2 separate regions of the Homo sapiens genome follow, and region 2 is linked to region 1. Evidence: promoter capture Hi-C in human tissues and cell types (Jung and others, 2019). All regions are on one chromosome and are shown on one strand. The core of a region is centred on a gene start or on the middle of the fragment in contact, and the rest is flanking DNA. Distances in the headings are between cores, read along the strand shown. Region 1 holds the start of CDK18 (cyclin dependent kinase 18). Region 2 has its middle 32 kb from the start of NUAK2.

The links. The method cuts DNA at HindIII sites, captures the fragments that hold promoters and counts their contacts. A contact is called where the count stands out against the background at its distance.
Region 2: a fragment that was not itself captured here is called in contact with the fragment with the promoter of CDK18 in region 1 in 1 of the 25 tissues and cell types used here (hippocampus).

The regions. Positions count from the first base shown.
Region 1 is chr1:205,503,152-205,507,818 of GRCh38, forward strand. CDK18 (cyclin dependent kinase 18) reads left to right here and starts at 1,518. Exons shown (of 16, transcript NM_212502.3): 1 at 1,518-1,645. RefSeq lists an enhancer at 3,442-4,095. The HindIII fragment of the contact is 16,948 bases long and covers 1-4,667 here.
Region 2 is chr1:205,287,423-205,292,062 of GRCh38, forward strand. No RefSeq gene overlaps it. Among named protein-coding and RNA genes, the nearest start is that of NUAK2, 32 kb to the right of the region's middle. RefSeq lists an enhancer at 4,259-4,498. The HindIII fragment of the contact is 8,183 bases long and covers 1-4,640 here.

The DNA of each region.
Region 1 (4,667 bases), core at 268-2,767:
CTTGAAATTCTACCCTTTGGCCCCACTCTCTCTAATCCGCCAGTAAACAGTTCCTTGGCCATAGTCCTTCTCCCTTTCCCTCCCTGCCCCTTCCAAACCTCTTTATGGCCTCCTGCTCCCCAGGCTTCTCACCATCCACTGGACTACAGAGCCAGGAGGTTGCTGCACACCTAAAGGCTCTGGATCCATGCACCCCGACAACACTTGGCAGTTTCATTTTTAGGAAGTGCTGTGCCCAGGAAATCTGCATGCCTTGGCAGAGAAAGCGAGGTAAAAAAAAAAAAAAGAGTTGGGAGGCCCTCTGTGAGATGTCAACTACCCACAGGTCACTTTCATGCATGGGCCCAGTGTCTTCCTTCATTCTCCTGTCTCCAGCTGACAGTGGGACCTCAGGCCCATGTCTTCCAGAAGGAAACTGTTCTATTCTCAACAACTCACAGTCCCCAGGGAAAGGGTTCAGGTAGAAGCACATGTACACTGTGGAGCACCCCCTCCTAAGGAGACTTTCCCTGTGGGAGACCCCAGACTGCAGCAGCCAAGCCCTCTGGTAGGGCAGGGGACACAGACTGCCTTGATGAGGTGCCATAGAGCCAAGGCACACCTCCTCTCCTCACAGCCCTCAGGAGGAAGCAGAGATGAGAGGGGCCTGGCGGTGGGGCACTGTGCCCTTCACCCCCATCCCCAGATTTTTGTTTTGTTTTTTTTTTTGATCCTTGAAGTCAGATGATGTGGGTGCAATGGCCATTGGCCTGAGTTCTAATCATGGCTCGCCATGAACTCTTGTGGCACTTTAGGCCAGTTCAATTGCTTTGCTGGGCCTCAGTTTCCCCTTCTGTAAAATGAGAGTGCCACTAGCTGAACTAGCCATTCTGTAACCCTTCTTGGATGATTCTCAAATATCCTGTGGAGTTTAATTCCAAAAGGACAAGTTGAATTATCCTTCGGGGAGGGAAATGTGAATGATGGCTGGTAACAAGGGCTTCATTCAGGTCCTGGAGAGGTGGGAACTTTGTCCGGAAAGGTAAGTGACAAGTCCCACTGGATAGGGTAGAAGGGGAGCCCGAGGGCTACTATTGTCAAGAAAATGACCACCAAAATCTGTCCATGCACATTCGTTCCTAGGGCGCCAGGTACAGGGAGGTACCTAGGAGAGGTAGGAGCACCGCTTTTAGAGACAGGCAGGCACTCTCAGTGTACCCCTGGCGCCTTGGTGTCCTGGGGTGATCCAGTCCAGAAGGCCTCATCCCCTAGCCAAGGCTCTCAGGGCCGGTTTTAGAAACGAAACAGGAAGAGGCACTTGGACCCTGGTTCCCAGAGTGGGAGAAAGGGGTGGGCACCCGGGCAGAGGGAGCCCTGGGGATTGGTAGCGGCTGTGGGCAGGGCGGGAGGGCCGGGGGCGGAGTCAACTTGTACATGTGAAAAACTCTGGCGGGGGCCGGGCATTTTCCTTCCTCCTCCTCCTCCTCCTCCTCCTCCCTCCTCTTCCCCACCTTCCTCCACTCCCTCCCTTCCCCTCCCCTTCTACCTCCTCCTCGGCCAGCTCAGGTTGCAGCTTCTCTGGGGAACTGCTCACCTTTCCGGAGCAGGGGAAGCTGCCCCGTGCCCGGGAGGGAGCGGGCGCACCGCGGCCCCCAGGACACGCGCTGTGAGTCCCGCGGGCGGTGCGCCTGGGAGGAAGGGGGAGGTCGGAGGAGCGGGCACCGCGGCGCCGGGTATAAGGAGCAAAGGTAAGCGGAACGGCTCTTAAAGGCGCAGTTTTGCTTTTGCCCTGAGGCGAGAGGTTGGAGGGAAATACCGGAGCGGCGAGGGGAGAGCAGAGATCACGAGGCGTGATCTGTGTGATACTGTGTTGTGTGTTGAGGGGTGGGGGGTGCCCTCGAAAGGCCACTCGTAAGTTCCAGGTGCTTGAGAGGGAGGGTTATTTTGCAATCTCAGACCCCGCGCCCCCTTAGGGAGTCTCCATCTGGGATCACTTTGGCCCCTGGGCTCCCGTCTGAACCCTACAAAGCAAAGTTTTCCACCCAGTCCGGAACCAGGCGCTTTCTAAGCTCCCTTCATTCTGGGAAGGGCAAGGGTCAGGAGTCTCCAGGGACCAAAGGACCCGAGAGTGTGGGGCCACATCGCTGCCTTGAAGGGCTTCCTGGGCTCTGGTGAACTTTCCAGAGCGGCAGGCAGGGGGTGGGAGGCCGGAGCCCTGGGAAGAACGTGGAAGGACACGTGAAGCCCTGCAGGTCCCAGTTCTGGGGGAGGCAGGGGTCTGGGGAATGCTGCTGCTTCTCTCTTTCCACCCCGGAAGACCAAAGGGGCAGTGCCCCCCTCCACCCCTCATCAACAGGCGACAGAGGGTTAATGCAGCAGAGGGAAAGGAGGCTGGGTGGGGCCGGGGGGAGTGGGCGGTGACCTGTTGGGCTAAGGAGATGTGCCTTGAGGATTCTGCTGTAGTTGAGGGACACCATCAGGAATCTGAAATCCAAAATCGGGTCTGGACTGGAGGCCTCTGTTTTCGCCCTGTGGGGGGCGGGGATTCCCTGAAGGTGTCTGCAGACCTTGTGCTGGGTGGGAGTTGGGCTGCAGAAACAGTGAGGGGTTTTCTGTGCTGCAGGGTCAGCACCCTCCTAGGCACCAGCCCTGCCTCTCTTCATTCTCTCTGGGCACCTCCCGGCAGTCGGGGTGGGAGGATTGACACTGTGGGAGTGAGAGGCCCTGGAACCTCTTCCGCGCTATCTGCTACTGTCTCCCCTTCTTCCCCACCCCTAGCCCAGCCCTCGGCAGTTCCCCAGCTGTAGCCTGGGCCCTGTGACTCACTAACACCACCGGCTTGCCCCTCCTGTGTCAGCACCCAGTGAGCTTCGGCATGTTCGCGTGGCATTCCCCACCCGGGCATGGGCATGCAGCACATTCCTGGACACGGGCCTGAGAGGATGCCTGGAGCGCCTGGTGGACTGGCACGTCCTCAGAGATCCCCTGCCTTTAGCCTGGCCTTGGGAGGGGCCTGGGAAAACGGTGCTGAGGGTGCTGAGGGTCGGTGGAGTACAGGGCGACACTGGCTCCAGGTCCGGGTTTGCATCCTGAAGGCGTTCCAGAGAGAGGGTCACCTTGCCACAGCAAAGCTGCTATCTCGGGTTACCCTTTCCCAGCCACCTCTTGTGCAGCTGAGGAGGCTGTGGGGCTGACCCCTCCCCCACCCTTAATCTGGGGTGTACCTGACCATTGGGTTCCCAGGACTCTCCCCACTGGGTCCCCAGGACTCTCCCCATACCCTGCCAGGAGAATGGAAGAAGCTCTCCACGCGTGCCAGAAGAAGTTCTTCCCAAACTTATCGGGGGTGCCAGAGGCAGAGTAGACAAGCCTTAGTGGCCACCATTTGTTGAATATCTACTGTGCGCCAAGCAGTGCGTCACAACTTTATGAAGTAGGTATTATTATCATCCCCATTTTACAGGTGAAGAAACTGAGTCTCTGAGAGACCAACTTTTCCAAGGTCACACAGAGGTGGGATCCAGCCCACTTCCGTCTGACCCCAAGCCCCTGCTGTTAACCCCTGCCCCATTGTGGGGAGGTTCCGGCCCACTCTGGAGTTCTCTGGTCTGCGTCAGTCCTCAGGAGAAGAAAGAATGGGGGTGATGCTCCAAATATTGAGGCTCCCATCTGTCTGTCCTGCACTAGGCAGAGCCAGGCTTCTCCATGGGGCACAGGAGAGAGGGCACCAGATCTGAGGAGCAAATAGGTTCTTGGTCTGAGATCTCGTGGGATCAGGTTGCCAGCCCTGCAAACCCCCGCTCAGGTCTAGAGGACATGGAGCTGCCTTTCAGGGTGCATTTGCTTCCTCTACAGACTCGGACTCTGTCCTCTGCCTACTTGGGCCGTCCCGCACTCGGGAATGCGTCCTACACTGTAGGGCAGAGCCCGGCTTGACTCTTCCCGGTTCCTACCCTAACCAAGCCTCTACTTTCTGGGATCACCCTGTTGGGACTTTTGTCCAGCATCTCCATCTACCTGTCCTCTGATTCCTTCTGTTCTTCTCTAACTGAGCTTGAGAACTAAAGGGGAGGGCAAACTTCTGGCCTTGGTGGAATCCAGCTCCAGCATATAGTAGCTATGTGACCTTCCCCTCACTAGCACACTCGTGAATTTCTCCCAGCATCCGTTCCCTCATCTGTAAAATGAGGATCATAATAGAGGGCTGTTATAAGATTTAGGCTGGGTGCGGTGGCTCACGCCTGTAATCCCAGCACTTTGGGAGGCCGAGGTGGACGGATCACGAGGTCAGGAGATCGAGACCATCCTGGCTAACATGGTGAAACCCCATCTCTACTGAAAAAAAAAAAAAAGCACAAAATTAGTCAGGCGTGGTGGCAGGTGCCTGTAGCTACTCGGGAGGCTGAGGCAGGAGAATGGCGTGAACCCGGGAGGCGGAGGTTGTAGTGAGCCGAGATTGCACCGCTGTACTCCAGCCTGGGCGACAGAGCGAGACTCCGTCTCAAAAAAAAAAAAAAAAAAAAAAAAAAAAAATAATGCACAGTGCCTGGCATGTAGCAGAGACTAAATAACTGGTAGCTATAGTGGTTGGTGGTGCTTGTTTGGAAAGGGAATTTCCTGGTGATTGCACCAGGGCTGGTCTAGAGACCAAGGTAGATTTTCCCAGCCCCATCAGGCCAAGCCCTTAG
Region 2 (4,640 bases), core at 220-2,719, 220 kb before region 1:
GTCAAAGAAGGCCATTGCCACCCCTCCCCACCCTGTTCCCTCTTAGGTGGAAGGCAATTGTGGCCCTTAGAAACCCTCTGAAGAAGCATCTAACAGCTTTTCTCAGGCCGAAATGGGAGAGGGTGAAGGTTTAGGAAAGAAAACGGTCATTCTTATGTCTTTCCCCAAACCAGATGATTTCCCTTTGTTCCAAACAGTTGGCAAAGACGTCTGGGCAGAGAAAGGGTCCTGACTTGATGCACTGCTCTGCAGGCAGCTGGGTGACTCCGGCCTCTGTTGGTTTGCAGCCTGGGCCAGGGCTGGGGAGTTGCTGAGGGGTGGGCTCAGGCTCACAGTAGGTAGGCTGCTGCTTGGGCTTTCAACTATTACCTCTGATCACAATGAATTCATGAATTTATATTAGTTTGATGCATATCTCTTCCACTGGACTTCCAACCTCTGGAGCGCAGGAACCACACTGTATTTAATTCTGGAGCCTCAGGGCCTGGCACAATGTCAAGCACACAGTAAGTGCTCAGTAAGTGCTAGAGACAAAAACGCACTGCAGCCTCCCTGCCAGCCTGATTTCTGGAGCATCCCTGACTCTCTTAATGGAAAGAGCTTCTCAGAGCTTCCCAAGCTGACTAGAGGAGGGACTGTCATGGTCATGGGCCCTGCTTCCCTCTTATAGTTCTCTTAGCTGGAAGGCAGGATCCTTCTCCTCTGAGCTGCTTCTGAGGCCACTTATTTGTTTATTTCCAAACCCAAAAATGCTTCTTAGGTTTTGCTGCCACCTGACTTGAAGCTCTGACCACCCCAGTGCTACTTCTGCTCTGCCCCATCCAGACATCAAGCGAGATTCATTCCCCCAGCCTCAGACAAACCACACCCCTATCACAACCGTAACTATTCTTAGCAGAGCAGGAAGGGGGGCGCTGCCGAATGACCTCGCTGCCTATAGAGACTTCACCTCCACCCACCCTTCACTCACCCGGTGTCACTTCCCCCTTTTAATAACAACAACACTGACACCAAGTTTCACTTCCACCACTTCCTGTGGGTTTTGTTCATCCTCAGCTGCTGAGGTTTCTAGAGGGTGGGTGAGTCTCTGGCCCAGCTGCAGGAAGGTCCCTCTGACTATAAACTCTACCCCTAAGCATTTAGAGGCTTGCCCTTCAGTCCTCAGACACATTCACCTTTCTTTTTTTTTGCTTTTTTTTTTTGTTTTTTTTTTTGAGGTAGAGTCTCACTCTGCTGCCCAGGCTGGAGTGCAGTGCAGTGGCACGATCTTGGCTCGCTGCAACCTCTGCCTCCCAGCTTCAAGTGATTCTCCTGTCTCAGCTTCCTGAGTAGCTGGGATTACAGGCATGTGCCACCATACCTGGCTAATTTTTGTATTTTTAGTAGAGGCAGTATTTCTCCATGTTGGCCAGGCTGGTCTTGAACTCCTGACCTCAGCCTCCCAAAGTGCTGGGATTATAGGTGTGAGCCACCGCACCTGGCCACATTCTCCTTTTTTTTCTTTTTTTTTTTTTTCCAGACAGAGTTTTGCTCTTGTTGCCCACGCTGGAGTGCAATGGTGTGATCTCAGCTCACCGCAACCTCCGCCCTCTGGGTTCAAGCGATTCTCCTACCTCAGCCTCCCAAGTAGCTGGGATTACAGGCATACACCACGACACCCGGCTAATTTTGTATTTTTAGTAGAGACGGGGTTTCTCCATGTTGGTCAGGCTGGTCTTGAACTCCTGACCTCAGGTGATCCGCCTGCCTTGGCCTCCCAAAGTGCTGGGATTACAGGCATGAGCCACCACACTTGGCCCACATTCTCCTTTTTTAAAGCTGTCCAGAATAGGGGATTCTCCATCCTTCCCTGGGTCAGAATCCCAATATCTGATCCAAGTTCATCCTGTTGACTAACCCAAATCTCTCCTGCTATTAGGGTTGCCATATTTTGCAAGTAAAAATACAGAACACAGAACACCCATTTAAATTTGAATTTCAGATAAACAATGAATAGAAGGCCAGGGGCAGTGGCTTATGCCTGTAATCCCAGCACTTTGGGAGGCTGAGGTGGGCGGATCATGAGGTCAGGAGTTCGAGACCAGCCTGATCAACATGGTGAAACCCTATCTCTACTAAAAATACAAAAATTAGCCGCGTGTGGTGGCGTGCGCCTGTAATCCCAGCTACTCAGTAGGCTGAGGCAGGAGAATTGCTTGAACCCAGGAGACGGAGGTTGTAGTGAGCCGAGACTGTACCACTGTACTCCAGCCTGGGCAAAAGAGCAAGACTCCGTCTCAAAAAAAAAAAAAACAAAAAAAAAAATGAATAACTTTTTAGTTAAGCATGTCCTGTGTAATATTATACTAAAAAAAAATTCATTGTTTATCGGAAATTCAAATGTAACTGGACATCCTTTCTTTTATCTGGCAACCCCCTGCCTGCTGTATTCCTTCTCTTTTTGTTTGGAGACAGTCTTACTGTGTCACCCAGGCTAGAGAGCAGTGGTGTGATCTCAACTCACTGCAGCCTCAACCTCCTAGGCTCAAGGGATCCTCCCACCTCAGCCTCCCAGATAGCTGGGATTACAGGCACATACCACCATGCTCAGCTAATTTTTGCATTTTTAGTAGAGATGGGGTTTCGCCATATAGCCCAGGGTGGTCTTGAACTCCTGGCCTCAAGTGATCCACCCGCCTCATCCTCCCAGAGTGCTGGGATTACAGGCGTGAGTCGCTGCACCCAACCTTGTATTCCTTCGCATGAAAGCAGCAGTTCTCAACCATTTTGATCTCAGGATCTCTTTACACTGTTAGAAATTATTGAGGACACCCAAAGAAGCTTTGTTGATGTGGGTGAATGATAGCTACTGGTATTTACCATATTAGAAAGGCAAACAGACATTTTAAAAGTAGTAATTAAGGCCAGGCGCGGTGGTTCAAACCTGTAATCCCAGCACTTTGGGAGGCCAAGGCGGGTGGATCACTTGAGGTCGGGAGTTCCAGACCAGCCTGGCCAACATGGAGAAACCCCCGTCTCTACTAAAAATACAAAAATTACCCAGGCATGGTGGCAGGCGCCTGTAATCCCAGCTACTTGGGAGGCTGAGGCAGGAGAATCGCTTGAAGCCGGGAGGTGGAGGTTGCGGTGAGCCAAGATCTCACCATGGCACTCCAGGCTGGGCAACAAGAGCAAAACTCCATCTCAAAAAAAAAAAAGAAGAATACAAAAATTAGCCGGGCATGGTGGCACATGCCTGTAATCCCAGCTACTCAGGAGGCTGAGGCAGGAGAATCACTTGAACCTGGGAGGCGGAGGTTGCAGTGAGCCGAGATCACGACACTGCACTCCAGCCTGGGTGACAGAGTAAGTCTCAAAAAAAGAAAAAAAAGCAGGAATTAAGATAACAGTAATATCTCATTATGTACATATGTACAAAAAATAATTTTTCAAAACAAAAAAAATTATTGAGGAGAGTGGCATTGTTCTACATTATTTTACAAATATTTTTTGATTTTTCAATTTTAAATTATGTTAAAAAACATAACATAAAATTACCATCTTAACCATTTTTTTTTTTTTTTGAGACTGAGTCTCACTCTGTCGCCCAGGCTGGAGTGCAGTGGTGCGATCTCAGCTCACTGCAAGCTCTGCCTCCTGGGTTCAAGCGATTCTCCTGCCTCAACCTCTCGAGTAGCTGGGACTATAGGTGCCCACCACCACGAGCGGCTAATTTTTTGTATTTTTAGTAGAGACAGCGTTTCACCGTGTTAGCCAGGATGGTCTCAATCTGCTGATCTCGTGATCCACCCGCCTCAGCCTCCCAAAGTGCTGGGATTACAGGCGTGAGCCACCGTGCCCAGCCCATCTTAACCATTTTTAAGCATATAGTTCAATAGTGTTAAATATATTCATCAATTGAGACCAGAAGGTCAAGGCTGCAGTGAACCATGATTGCGCCACTGCACTCCAGCCTGGGCGACAGAGTGAAACTCTGCCTCAAAAAAATAAATAAATATATTCACACAATTGTGCAGAGGTAGATTCTTATACCTCCAACTGCTGCATTTGGTATGTTGTAATATCACACACCGTGAATCTCTGGAAAACTCCACTGTACACTCATGAGAGAATGAGAGTGAAAAAGGCAAATGATGTTTCCTTATTATTAGTAAAACAGTTCTAGGCCTATAATCCAGCACTTTGGGAGGCCAGGTTGGGTGGATCACTTGAGTCCAGGAGTTCGAGACCAGCCTCGAGGGCAACATAGTAAGGCCCTGTCTCTACAAAAAGTACAAAAAATTAGCCAGGGGTGGTGGCACGTGCCTGTGGTCTCACCTGAGCCCAGGAAGTCAAGGCTGCAGTGAGCCATGATCACACCACGGCACTCCAGCCTGGGTGACAGAGCGAGACCCTGTCTCATAACACCACCACCACCAACAACAAACCCCACTTCTGACTGTGTGTACCTTCTGAAAAGATTTGGGGAGCCCCCAGGGGTTCCCCCAGGGGTTCCTGGACCACACTTGGAGAACCAGTGCTCTAGCACAATGCCAGAGACTTCAGTGGTGATCGGTATCTACTCCTTTGCCCCGCAAGTTAATTTGGGATGGGGGATGATGTGACACCACACACATAATTTAATGTAATTCCAAGCTGTT